2 separate regions of the Homo sapiens genome follow, and region 1 is linked to region 2. Evidence: promoter capture Hi-C in human tissues and cell types (Jung and others, 2019). All regions are on one chromosome and are shown on one strand. The core of a region is centred on a gene start or on the middle of the fragment in contact, and the rest is flanking DNA. Distances in the headings are between cores, read along the strand shown. Region 1 overlaps IQCH (IQ motif containing H). Region 2 holds the start of CLN6 (CLN6 transmembrane ER protein).

Evidence for each region. The method cuts DNA at HindIII sites, captures the fragments that hold promoters and counts their contacts. A contact is called where the count stands out against the background at its distance.
Region 1: a fragment that was not itself captured here is called in contact with the fragment with the promoter of CLN6 in region 2 in 1 of the 25 tissues and cell types used here (lymphoblastoid cells).

Annotation. Positions count from the first base shown.
Region 1 is chr15:67,467,877-67,474,388 of GRCh38, forward strand. All of the region lies in intron 17 of IQCH (IQ motif containing H), which reads left to right. The region is part of intron 2 of IQCH-AS1 (IQCH antisense RNA 1); the gene reads right to left. Among named protein-coding and RNA genes, the nearest start is that of C15orf61, 50 kb to the right of the region's middle. The HindIII fragment of the contact is 6,457 bases long and covers 1-4,820 here.
Region 2 is chr15:68,228,456-68,235,584 of GRCh38, forward strand. CLN6 (CLN6 transmembrane ER protein) reads right to left here and starts at 1,273. Exons shown (of 7, transcript NM_017882.3): 1 at 1,047-1,273. The coding sequence starts at 1,129. RefSeq lists enhancers at 558-627, 658-737, 1,968-2,017 and silencers at 778-1,367, 1,137-1,316. The HindIII fragment of the contact is 6,678 bases long and covers 1-2,378 here.

The DNA.
Region 1 (6,512 bases), core at 342-2,841, 760 kb before region 2:
TTCTTTAATAATATGCTATATAGAAGGAAAGCAAACACCTTCCTGGGCTCTCAGAAGAGCTGTTGTCTCATCTCAGAAACAGGTGGGAGAACTGTCACTCAGACCCATTTAGACCAGGTGAATGGGTTTCTGATTCACTGACCTCCACAAAGAACCACTTGAAGGTGTAAACAAGGCCTGATAAATCCCAGACGTGCGTGTTTTAGAAATGAAAAGGAATCGCCTAACAGTGTTTTAACTTTCAATTAATGTTCTGTCCAAACCGGCATCAATCATTACCCTTTTCTGTCAGTTTTTCACTCTTCCTCGCTCTTTCTGGACCCTCCATACCATGGTTGGTGAGTGTCCAAAAGGGAACATCTTTGCAAACATCTTAACACAACCCAAGTCATTTATACACATTTTAGCAGCACATGATCTGTAATGAATGATTAAGTAAAACCTTTTGTGTTAAATTATGATGTTAATAATGATTCTGTCTCCTGTAATTTATTATAAATTCTCAAATGCTTCGGGTTTGATTTTGATAGAATGCAACAACAGCAGAGTTTATGTGATGACTTTATTTTTAGAACTCCTTCTTTGAAGGCACACATTTCCCTGCTACTGCTGCTACTGTAATTATGTACAAAACCAATCACTCATTAGAGTTAGGATACATTATCTTCTAGACAGATGAGGCTAAATAAGCAACACATTAATAATTCAGAGAGCAGTTCATTATGCATGTGGATGCCTGCTTCGTAACTGAAATAAGAACCTCATCAGCCTCTGCCAACCCTTAAACAATAGTTCTGTGTTATTGCAGCCACATTCAAGTTTACGCTTGTTAAACTGCTACTTGGATTATTTTATCAAACATTCATTTATTTGTGGTCCCTTACTGCCGAGAACAGATTTTGGAAGCTCCTTTTTTAAGTTAATGATTTGAGCAATGGGTGTTATTAATTCTCAGAATATTATAAACATGATTAATTTTCAGGCAGAGATTTATTACATAAGGATTTCAACTATGTCAACTGAAATGCATCACTGTCAAAACAAGTATCATGGCGAAAATACAATATGTTCCACACTTCAAGTGCTGGAGCTCAGAACTAAATCAATTTAAATTGTGGCTGAAGCAAAATTATATTATCCAGTGAAAAGGAGTATTTTGAGCTTCCTTTATTTAGCTTGAAGCATTCTTGTTAAATTGTGATTTAGAAAGGTAGTTTAATAAGACTAGACTTCTACCAAGAATATTTTGTCTTTTTTTTTCTCCTGTTTTACTAGAAAAGGCTAACCTCTGAAATTCCCACCTATTCCAAATGTGGTCACTGGACATTTGGAGTGAAGAGTACTGGTCTGGGAGTTAGGGATCATGAGTTCTGATCTTCTCTTCTGGCCTCAGTTTCCTCATTTCTAAAATAAAGGAGGGCTACATGATCCCCAGGGTCACTTGGGGGATTTGATCTTACGGGGCCTACAGAAAGGGACTCTGCACCAAGCCTGGCCCAGGCAGCCTCATGTGTTGCGGATGGCTGAAGGAAGGGACATCTCCTGTACGGGGACACAGGAAGGGCCCATCCCTCTATACTACAGCCTTCGCTTAAAAGGTCTTTTTCTTGCAGGATCTTTTAGAAAGGAGTAATATTGTGACAGGTCATATCCTAAGTTCTCATCAGCCTTTACCTTAACCATCAGTTACTACTTTCAGCAAGAATCAACTAGAAGTAAATTCTGCAGATACTTACCCAATGCCTATTTTGTGCCAGGCACTCTACTAAGCACAGAGGATATAAGGGTGAGTAGCAAAGCCCTCCAGTTTACCAAAGGACACAGAGCCTTTACTCCACCCCGAGTACTTTACTAAGTGCTTTCCATGAATCTTTTTGCAGTCCAATATATTAGGCAGGTGCTGTTATTATGCCCATTTTTAGATAGGAAGACAAGGTTAAGAGATGTTAAGCAATTTGTTAAAGGTCAGTAGGCAAGCAAGTAGGGAAGCCAAGATTTAACCTCGGCCTGTGTTTAACTGTGACACATTCCAACCTGCCTTGCATCAGCTGAGAATCAGTGATCCAGCCCCAGAGTGGAGCTTGTGCTCATCCCTAAAGAAGTCCCTTGTTGAGGCCATAGAGAAAGCTCTTCTTTGAAAAGAGGATGTACTTCCCTGTGTGACGAGGTTGTCTCCAGGAATATTGCCATTATCCATTGGCTTCTCGTCTGCTCTGAGCTCAGCCTCAGCTTCTGAGTCTCACACAGAAGCACTAAATGGACCGGATGTTCATAGAGGAGTCTTAGGGTTTTTTTGTTTGTTTGTTTGTTTTGAGACGGAGTCTCGCTCTGTCGCCCAGGCTGGAGTGCAGTGGCACGATCTTGGCTCACTGCAAGTTCCGCCTCACAGGTTCACGCCCAGGTTCATACTCCTGCCTCAGCCTCCCGAGTAGCTGGGACTACAGGCGCCCGCGACCATGCCTGGCTAATTTTTTTGTATTTTTAGTAGAGACGGGGTTTCACCATGTTGACCAGGATGGTCTCGATCTCCTGACCTCATGATCCGCCCCCATCAGCCTCCCAAAGTGCTGGGATTACAGGCGTGAGCCACTGCGCCTGGCTGGAGTCTTAGATTTTAAAAAGAACATGTAACTGGACATGGTTTCCTATACATAGCACAGATTTCCAAGCAAATAACACGGCATGGAAAAGAGCATGTCACTTATACTATGAACCATCTAGAAAAGCTTGACTATGTTTTTTAAAAAATAAACAGTTCACACACTAAAAATATGCATGAAATATACATCTTCAACTCTTGTCTTCAAAATCAAGTTTAATGGGGTTCTCATTTAATTCTTTGAAATACATAATATATTCACATGGTTCAAAAGGCAAAAGGTGGAAACAGTCACACATGGACAAACCTCCTTTCCATTGATCAGTTCCCACCTCATCCTACAAAGGTAACCACCATTCTGTGTCTATATATCCTTTCAGAGCATCTTTTTACATATACAAGTAAATACACATACAGGTGATCCTTTTCCCCCTTTTATACCCAAAATGTAGCCTATAATACATATTGTTCTGAATCTCACTTTTTTCTTTGGAGAGCTTTCTCTAACACTTCATTAAAAATGTTCTCATTTCTTTTTTTTCAGATTCAGACACCTGAGCAGTATCATTTCTTTTTTACAGCAACATGTTATTTCATTGCATGGATGTGCCATAATTTATGTACCCTTCCCCCATCGGTAGATTTTTGGGTTGTTTTCAGTTTTTTCATATTACAGTGCTGCAATGAATAACTTTGTGTATATATCATTTGGCACATTTAAGGTATATCTTAGAATACATACCATAAAGTGGAATTTTGGCTCAAAGGACATAACCCATAAAAATTAAAATTTTTAATTTCAATAGATATTTCCAAATCATTATTTCTTTTTTGATCCTTATCAAACCTACATAAATTGTACAGCATCAGAAGAGACTAGTTTTTACAAGTCAACCTTTTAATAGAAAATAATGTTTTCTATTTGTATAATGCTTTATACTTTAACTATACATGAGCTTATTTGATCCCCATGATAACCCCAAGAAATCGATGTTAAGGATTATTATATACATTTTACAGAATAGGAAACTGAGGCTAAGCAAAGTTAAGTGAGCTGCCCAAGTCATAAAGGTGGTACATAGCAAAGCCCAGGTCTTCTGATTCAAGTCACCTTCTGATGAAAAGGTTTATTGGTTAGTTGGTCAGTTTTAATTTGAAATAATTGACCTTATCTTTGAAACTATTTAGTTTAATATGTGAAAATAATTGCTAACATTTATTGAGAGCTTACTGTGTGCCAGACACTATTCCAAGGTCTTTACATTCTCATCTAATCCTCCTCTCAATACTCCTATGCTATTCACTTGTGCTATCAGGCTGGACATAAGACAATCCTAGGTGATTGATAGTTTCTTCCTGTAGAAACTGTGCAGTTGGCTAGGTCTTCTAAAAAGTAGTTGTATCTTGTAAGTATTATTCTAATGCATTTATTTAGCACTTAATATGTGCCAGGACTTTCACCAAGCATCAGGAGACAAAGATAATTGACAAAGTCCCTATCCTTGAGGAGCTGAAAAGAAAGGCCATAGAGAGAGAGAGATGTTGCTATTAAAATAGATAACATACACATGGATAAATGCCATTTGAGTGACAGACCCTCAGCTTGCTGCCAGAGTTCTCAGGGGAAATGACCATGGACTGACAGGGACAGGGAACACTTTAATGAAAACACAGAACTTTATCCTGCCTTAAAGACTAGAACAGTCACTAACTGGCGAGGAGGGGAGGACGTCCCCTAGCAGATGGGACAGAGTCCAAAGAAACCTGTGGTCTGCTAGGAAAAGGCAGTGAACCAGTCAGACTGGAGCACAGAACTGGGGAAGTGGGAAGCAGGAGAAGTAGTTGGAAGGGTGCACTGAGCAAGTTTGGGGAGGTCTACCCACCACACCAGGGTCTAGATTTCACCGTGAAGGCAAAAAGGCCTGAATATTTCTGAATAGGAGGATGACACAGACCAACCTGTGTTAGGGGGAAATGATTAATCCGGTGATACTGTTCAGAATCCCAGGAGATGGGGGAAGAGTAGGGGAAAAAACAGCCTGGGAAGTTACATTTATTGTAGATCCAAAATCCTTTCAAAGGAATGACAACAAAAATAGTAGCTACCATTTATCAGGTTCCAGGCACTGCAGTAGGTGCTTATTTAATCATCAGAAGACAGAATTTCAATGATCTGTTCAAGATCACATACACAGTAAGTGGCCTTGTCAGGTTCTGAACTTCTTTCTCACTCCATATAACCTTTCCACTGCAGAATTCTGCTTGTATCCTCACCTCTGACTCTCCAGGCAATAAAGGTCTGGACTAGGATGGTGATGGTTATGGAAAAGAAGGTTGGGAGACATGTACCAAATATCCTGGCTCTTCCTTCAGATTCTTTATGCATCACAAACCCCAGTCTGGGAGGAAGGGGAGTTGCACTCTGCATCTGTAGTGAAGAAGAAACCTCAGGGTAGCCTGCCCTTACATGTTGTCTAGTAATCATGTACTACTGGACAGTAAGCTCTTCTGCTGTGCTTTGGAGCCAAGATACATAGTATTGCTAGATTGTGCTACCACATGCCTGCCTGCCTACCTCTCTTGCTGGCTGGGGTCTGGTCTTGGTTTTTCTTGTTTATATACTATGGCAGCATCAGACAAGTTTAGAAGACAAAAATAACCTTGGAATTATCTTGTGAATTCATGGCAATTACCATGCAATTACATGCTCAGTAACCACAATGGAATTTGAGAGTGTTTACAGTTCACTTCCATGTGCAAAAGCCCATGCTTCTGGGCTTTTCAGTGTGAAGGTGAGAGCATGGCCAGCCCAGTATGGCAGGGCGAGCAGGCCTTGTGGCCATGCCCTTCCAGACAGACTAGCTAGCTGGGCCAGAACTTCTCCAAGCCAGTTCTTTTTACCCCACCAATTATTCCTGCTTAGTCCACCAGAGCCATGCTGTCCTCCAGCAGGCAAGGCCCGGAGCAACTGCCCTGAGTTGTCCTTCTCTAAGGATGGTGTGACTGTCCCCTGTGCCATGTAATAATCACCTGCTTTTGCTCCAAAGCATTTATCAATGGGCAGTGTCTTTCTTAAATTACATACTTTGAAGAGTCTCTTAAGTCAGAGGGAAGAGCTATCCACCTAATCTATTTCATGTATTCATTCTCTTTTATTTAATAAACACCAAGTGCCTGTTCTGTGCTGGTATCATGCCCAAACTGGAGATTCAGAAACCAAACAGCGCCTGCCCTCAGAAAACTCCCAGTCATGGAGGGCAGATGACCAAGGGAACAACTCATGATAGGTCAGGGTGACAGAGTACAGTAGTGAGGCATATGAGGATCAAATCAATTTTCTGTTGTTAGAAAAATCCCAATGGCTACAAATGGGACGCTACAAGTGGGGTAAACAACTCAAGATGTATTAGCCTGTGGGGGCCTAACTCGTCTGTAGATGTGGACTCCACTTGCATTTAGGATGAGCAGCCTTAACTGGTGGCACTGATGATGTGACCTTCGGACACAGGACTTGATGTAAATGTTGAAGAAAAACATGCTCCCCCCATCATGTGTGAGGGGAGCATGTCACCAAAAGTGCCACGAAATCTGAGTGTGTGTGTGTGTGTGTGTGTGTGTGTGTGTGTGTGGAGAGGGAGAGAGGGATGCAGGAGAGGAAAGGAGGTCTATTCTCTGCAGAGCACTCAGTCAGCCCCAGTTCCCTTGCGTTATCTCAGAGACAGGAGGCGAGCCAGAGGCCTGATTATAATGCATGTCAGGTCACTACGATTCCTTACGGCCAGCTCCAGACCAGCAGCACCTCCTTTGCCTACTCCTTTTCCAGGTCACTGCATAAGTCTGGGTACCTAGTTGCCCAGCACCTGTGCGTCACCACAGTTCAAGAGCCAAGCCAGGCACCTTTATCTTCTATGCC
Region 2 (7,129 bases), core at 23-2,522:
AGTGCGCCTACCCCTAAGTTTTGCAATCTAGGTCCTCAACTCGAGTCCTAGACTTGCTGCAATTAAAGGCCCTTCACAATCAGTCTGCATCCTCCTGTCACTTTCTTTTACAGCCGGAAAGCTCCAGCACCACTAAACTCCTTGCCCTTCCCCACTGTTTCCCTGGATGGAACAGCCTGTCTTCCCTGGGTCCCCTACCAAGTCCTCTGAGACTCAGCTCAAGTGCCACTTCCTCCATGAAGCCCTCCAAGATGACCGCTCACTCCCACTTGGGCTCTGTCTCTCCTGATCCCTACAGGACCGTAAGCCTCTCCCACCTTCACCCTGCCTACCCCCTTACTGCCTGGCACAGCGCTGGGCATACCACAGGCGCTTAAAGAATGCCTGCTGAATGCAGTGAATGTTTCTGGTCAGTAAAACGGGACGAAGGTAGAATGGAGCTCTGCTCGCCCAACGAGATAAACCAAAAACTGAGAAGGGCTCCTCATTCATTCTCTGGACGGCAGCTTCCGCCCTTCCCCGCTGTCTCTTCCATTACATTCGCACATTCTTGGGTGCCCCAGGTCAAGCAGACAGCCTCCTGATAAATGACAGAATCAAGTCCTACTCAGGGCTGGAGGGACCCCGAGAACGCGGAGGTGGCGCCCGGAACTTGCGGATAAGTTGGGGGTCCGAGTGACGAGGTGTGTGTACCCACCGCCCTGGGGAGCTCTCCCAGCGCAGCGGCTGTCCCGGCGCCAGCCCGGGTCGCTGGAACGCGGGAAGGGAGGAAAACCCCAAACTTCGGGCGGGCGCTCCTCCCACCCGAGCAACGGCGAAGCGGGGAGGCCGAGCCCCGCTGGGCCCCAGGCTCCCCAGACAGAGAAGGAAACGCGGGGGCACCGCCGCCACGGTAGCGCGCCTCCAAGCCCCCCGCGCTCCGCTCCGCCCCGGCCAGCGCCGCACACGAGGTTCCCGCCCGGCAGCCCTAGGAGCGTCACGTGGCGGGTCCCGAGGCCCCAGCGCACAGGCGCCTAGCCCGCCCTCTCACCCCGGCGCGCGCCCACCTGGCCTGCAGGAAGGAGGCGCCCAGCTGCGCGCCTGGGCCGCCCGTCGCTCCCAGGTGCTGCCGCCTCCGCGTCGCCTCCATGGCTGCCCCGCAGGCCCCTCGGCCCTGCCTTTCCGAGGAAGAGACCGGTTCAGCTCGGCTGCCCCGGCGGAGGCCGCCGCAAATTCCCAGCGCGGGGCGGTTCGGGGCGGGCCGGCGAGAGCGCGCGGCCCTCGGGAGGAACAGGCGGGGCTGCGGACCCGGGGCGGGGCGGAGCGGAGCGGAGCGGAGCGGAGGGAGGCGGGGCGGAGGGAGACGGGGCGGGCTCCGCTAGGGGAGGGCCGGGCGCTGCGAGTGTGGCGTCCTCGCGGGGCGGGGGCTGCTGGCCTGTCCGGGCTGCGCGCGTGACCACCAGCGGGCTGGGATGTGTTAGGGTCCCTTGCCTGCCTGGGTACGGGAATCTCTGTCTAGGGTGACTGAGGCCTGGGTGTTGGGCTGGGGCGGGGTAGCGACCTGGAGATAGACTAAGCTGATTTAAATGCTCCCCGGGGCAGAGGGTTCTGTGGGATTTCCCTTGTTCTTACGGGTGGAGGAGAGGAGGCAGGACTGGAGACCTGCACGTGTAGCACCCGCGTGGTGCAGCACGTGGGTTGCAGATGTTCTAGTGAGGGGCTGGCGGTGACAGTGGGAAGGAGCGAGTTGGTGACATCTAGAGTCGTGTGAGAGGTATGGTGACTGGGACTCTGGATGTGGGGGGTGAGGGGAGAAGAGTTCAGGCAGTGGCCGGATTCTGCCCCTGGGTGGATAGTGGAGGCACCCCCCGGGAAGTGGGCTAGAGCAGATTTCGTGTAAATAAAGATTCATCTTTGAACGCATTAAGCTTGAGGTGGGTCAGGAAGGCTGTTGGACCGGTGGTCTGAAGCTGAGGCGAGACCTGGGAACCCAGTGGACAGGCTCGTGAGTCACCGGAGCATACAAGACAGACAGAACCTAAGGGGACAGCATCCTCAAGTGAAAAACAGAACCAAAGGTCAAACCTGAGAACAGCCTGCAGGGCAGATTGCCAGGACTTCATTAGTGGTACCACTTTGAACTAGCTGTGATGCGGGCAAATGGCTCAACCCCTCACAGCTTCAGTTTACTCATCTGTAACAAGAAGATGCCTATTGCATCTACTACATTGGAGTTGTGATGACTATATGAAACTCTTAGCAGAGAGCCCAGCACTGGTGGACTAAGTTATTTACAATAGCCCGTCTCGAGACCTGAGGTTTCCCTCCACAGAAAGGTTACCTTCCACACCACTGTCAATGTCACAAACTCTCTCCTCCCCACGGTCACTGTCAGCAGCCCAGGCCGCTAACTAGAACAACTGCAACCAACTCCCATTCTCCCCACCACCCCCGTGCTACACCAGGCGCACACGACATGTGCAGGTCTCCAGTCCTGTCTCCTCTCACCCAGCCCTCAAGCCGCTGCAGAAGGGATGTGCCTCTTGGAAGGGATGTGCCTCAGATGCAAATGCAATGTGCCATTCCCCTGCCCAGTATCCTTGGTCTGCTTCCCAGACCATGAGGGGTCTGAGCTATGCCTATTTCCATTCTATTTTCTTTCCTGTCTTTCTTCTTGGGAGATGTTTATTGGATTTATTTCTTTCCCCTTTGGTCAGAACCTGCATGTCCTTTCTTGGCTGTGGGAGGCTAGGACTGCCTGCCTGGGAGTCATTTTCCATCAGCCCCATCCTGGGCTCTAGCAGCCCACAGGCCACACCTCAATCCCCCCCCTCCGCCCCTGGTCCCCTGAAGAACACATTTGCTTTAAAGCTTTCCTTGTTTCATTTGATCCACACACACCAGGTCGTAAGGAGAACAGGTGATTGTCTCTGTTTTGTAGCAGAGAAAAACCTAGGCCCTGAGCTGAAGTACTGTGCCCAAGGGTCAGCCAAGGACAGCACTCAGACGGGGCCCCAGATTTAATTCTGGTGAATCTGATCTACACATCGATCTCGGTATACACCAGAGAAGAAGGATTGAGGCTTCCCGCTCTGACCCCAATTTCTTATCCTCTGCAGGCTTTGCAAGCCTGCTGGGCTCCAGAGGGAGGGGCATGCAGTGCCCATGATGTCATCATCGATTTAATAACACTCAGAGGTGGGCTTCCAGCCATCAGAGGATGAGGCCGTGTGGAGGGAGCCTCTCTAGCTCATTTAATCCTCCAATCTCTTAAATACAAACACATCTGCCTTTTTTCTGGAGTCCGCTGCTACCCCTTGAGGGGAGGGGAGTCCAACCTGGCAGGGGGCTGGGCCTTTCTGAATGAACAAGATGAGAATTCTCCCTGTCCGGTGGGATTATCAGCCCCCTCTCTTTCCCATCCCACCAGGACACTTTAAAAACACCATCTTCATTAGCTCTTTAAATTGCATGGAAATTTGGGGGAGGAGGATAGAGTAAAGCTGAGGGGTACACATTTGCAGGATCTTGTTTGTGATTATCTGAGAACATGGGCCCTGCACATCAGAAGGGAGTCTAGTCTCAGCTCTCTGAGCTGCAATTTCAGTGGCCAGCATCAAGAAATCTTTCAGCTGAGAAGGTCCTTTGGTATTATGCATCTTGGTGGTTTTGACTTTTCTTTTAGTAGAGGTTCCCACTACTTTTCAATTATAGCTGTATCCGATATTTTTTTTTTTTTTTGAGACGGAGTCTTGCTCTGTCGCCCAGGCTGGAGTGCAATGGCACGATCTCGGCTTGCTGCAACCTCTGCCTCCCTGGTTCAAGTGATTCTCCTGCCTCACCCTCCCAAGTAGCTGGGACTACAGGCATGCACCACCACGCCTGGCTAATTTTTTATATTTTTAGTAGAGACGGGGTTTCACCATGTTAGCCAGGCTGGTCTTGATCTACTGACCTTGTGATCTGCCCGCCTTAGTCTCTCAAAGTGCTGGGATTGCAGGCGTGAGCCACTGCACCAGGCCTGTATCAGATACTTTTAAATGTATCGCCTAAGATCCGTTAGACACACCAGTCTTCCAGCTCCTTGCCACTTGTTTTGTCCAGCTGCTGTGACAACTGACTTCACCCAGGCAGAAGTCAACTGCACCTCCTCTCCCCTTGGCCCCACACCCTTGGCCTCAGAAGTGCAGGAGTGTTGGACACTCCATGGAGTGAACTTTGACCAGCAAGAGACAGGGATTAGCAAATAAATTTTTCTCTCTTCCTCTTTCTGGACAGACTGGCCTGAGTTCCGAGTTCACACAGCCACTTTAAAGAAGGTCCTGGGCCATGCGCAGTGGCTCACACCTGTAATCCCAGCACGTTGGGAGGCCAAGGTGGGTGGACCACGTGAGGTCAGGAGTTCAAGACCAGCCTGACCAACATGGTGAAACCCTGTCTCTACTAAAAATACAAAAACGAACTGGGTGTCGTGGCATGTGCCTGTAATCCCAGCTACTTGGGAGGCTGAGGCAGGAGAAATTGCATGAACCCAGGAGGCAGAGGTTGCAGTGAGCCGAGATCACGCCACTGCACTCTAGTCTGGGCGACAGAGCAAGGCTCAGTCTCAAAATAAATAAATAAATAATAAAGAAGGTCCTGTAAGGTCTAGCATCCTTCCAGACGGAGTGGTGGCCAGCTCCGCAGTGCACTCTCTTGTGTGCCCTCCCTTCTCCTCTGTCTCACTCCCCCTTGTCCTCACTTCCCCTTCCCAGCCACCACACTCCCCAATACAGTGTTAGCATACATGCTGCCCTGCTCTGCTTCTTTGGAAACCTGGGCTAAGACAAAGATCTTTCCAGCATGCTCAATGTATGAAACACCTACGGGGGGGTGGGGGGGGTGGTGCCCTGAGTGAAGAGAAGCAGGGTCCCAGGTGCCATCTCTTCTCCCCTTATGGTTACAAGGCCGTGGCCAAGTCACCTCCAAAGGGCTCCCTGGAAAGCCTTTGATCTTGCCTAATTTCATCATTCTGCAGCTGCGGAAAATGAAGCCTAAAGCCACACAGCGAGTTAGAAGCCAAGCCAGGCCAGAATCCAGTCTCCACTCCTAATCCAGTACCCTTTCTATCCAGTCTCTTAAGAGCTTTTGAAAATTTCTCTTTCTTCAAAACATCTTCCCACACTGCCCTGCCACCAGAAGGCTTTGAAGGCCCCTGCTAGACTGCAGCTACCATCTGAGAGACATGACACACAGAATCCTGGATCCAGAGGCTGGGACTCCAGAAGGCAGACAGACGAAGTGGGACCAGGAAAACTCAGTTACTTTGGAGAGAGGCAGCCAGGAGGGGCCTGACTAGGGGATCTCTAAGTGTGGGCAACAAGACTGTGCACAGTGAGAAGGCTGCACAAGGACAGACAGCAAGGGACTGGGGCACTGGGGGAAGATGGAGACTGTCTTTCTGTGTCAACTGGTATTGCCTGCAGGACACTCCCCATCTGGCTGAAGAAGCTGGGAGGGTGACCAGAAGTCACACTGTGGGGAGAGAGAAGGTCCCCAGGTTGTGTTTAATTCAGATTCTTGTGGTTGTGATTACTAGAAGCAACGGGGGACAGGTTGATGACAAAAGGGGATTTCTATTACAAGGATTTAGGGGTGTCTTAGGGAACCTAAGCATAAGGATGCAGTTGGGCCTCAGGAACTGAGAATGGTGCTGGGACTTTGGGAGCCCAGGAAGGCACCACCCACAACACTGTTTCCATGTCATCCTTCTCTCTTTCTCCCTGCAGACTGGCTTTCCTGGCTTTCCAGGAAATACAGCAGCCGACGGCCTCAGTCAGCAGCTCCCAAGTTTATCTTTCTTCCATCCAAGAGATAAGCAGAATGTGGGTGGCCTCTTCTGGGCCCAATTCAAAATTCCCGCGGAGGGATTCTGATTGGATGGCTTGAGCCAGTGCCCACCCTGAGCCAGGCAGTGTACCGATATGGCTGCTCCTTCTCTAACCAGACAGCCAAGGGAAGGAGAAGTGTATAGTTCACGGCCCTGAGTTTGCAACTTGAACAAAAGCCCTAATATAGGGCTCTATTTCCACCCATTAATGGAAGAGATCACTGCCTTTTACATGTGGCTATAAATTCAGACCCTGCCTAGAAGCCTGCTGTCCCCATGACAGCCCAGAGCTGAATTGCTCTCTGCTAGCCCGTTCCCCTCCCGTCTGCTGCTGAGAGCTAGGAGAAGCTGAGAGGCTCCCAGAGCCCTCCACTCTTTTCCTTATCATTTCTTTTTCCTTATAATTTCTTTCACTCTTAACAGTTGACAAAGGCCGGGCGCGGTGGCTCACGCATGTAATCCCAGCACTTTGGGAGGCCAAGGTGAGCAGATCATTTGAGGTCGGGAGTTTGAGACCAGCCTGGCCAACATAGTGAAACTCCGTCTCTACTAAAAATACAACAATTAGCTGGGCATGGTGGCAGGTGCCTGTAATCCCAGCTACTCGGGAGGCTGAGGCAGGAGAATTGCTTGAACCCGGGAGACGGAAGTTGCAGTGAGCCAAGATTGTGCCACTGCACACCAGCCTGGGTGACAGAGTGAGATTCTGTCTAAAACAAAACAAAAAAAGAATAAAACAAAACAAACAAAACCAATAGACATTTATTGTACAATTCCTGTGTGCTAAACCCTGATCTCAGTGCTTAATGTGTATTATCTCATTTAATCCTCACAGTAGCCCTAAGGGATAGCGCTAACCTTGGCTCCTGCTTATAGATGAGTTAACTCAGGTACAAAGAAGCTGAGTCATCTACCCCAAACCACACAGCCTGTCCATGGTGTAGTCACAGGTGGACCTGGGCAGCCTGCCTCTGGGACCTGCATTCTCCAAAAACCACCACACAACTGCCTGAACGGAGAGGCCATGGAGGCTGGAGGGAGGTCTTTCCACAGCCACGGTGAGCCACGAGTAATATCTGCTTTGAAATTGTTTCAGAATTGTCAACCTGAGCTCTGTATAGTCAAATTGTGGAATTTAATGACTTATTAGAGTGCTACAGGAGACCCACAGCAGGAGAATCACTTGAACCCAGGAGGCAAAGATTGCATTGAGCCGAGATCGTGCCACTGCACTCCAGCCTGGGTGACAGAGCGAGTCTGTGTCTAAAAAAAAAATAAAAA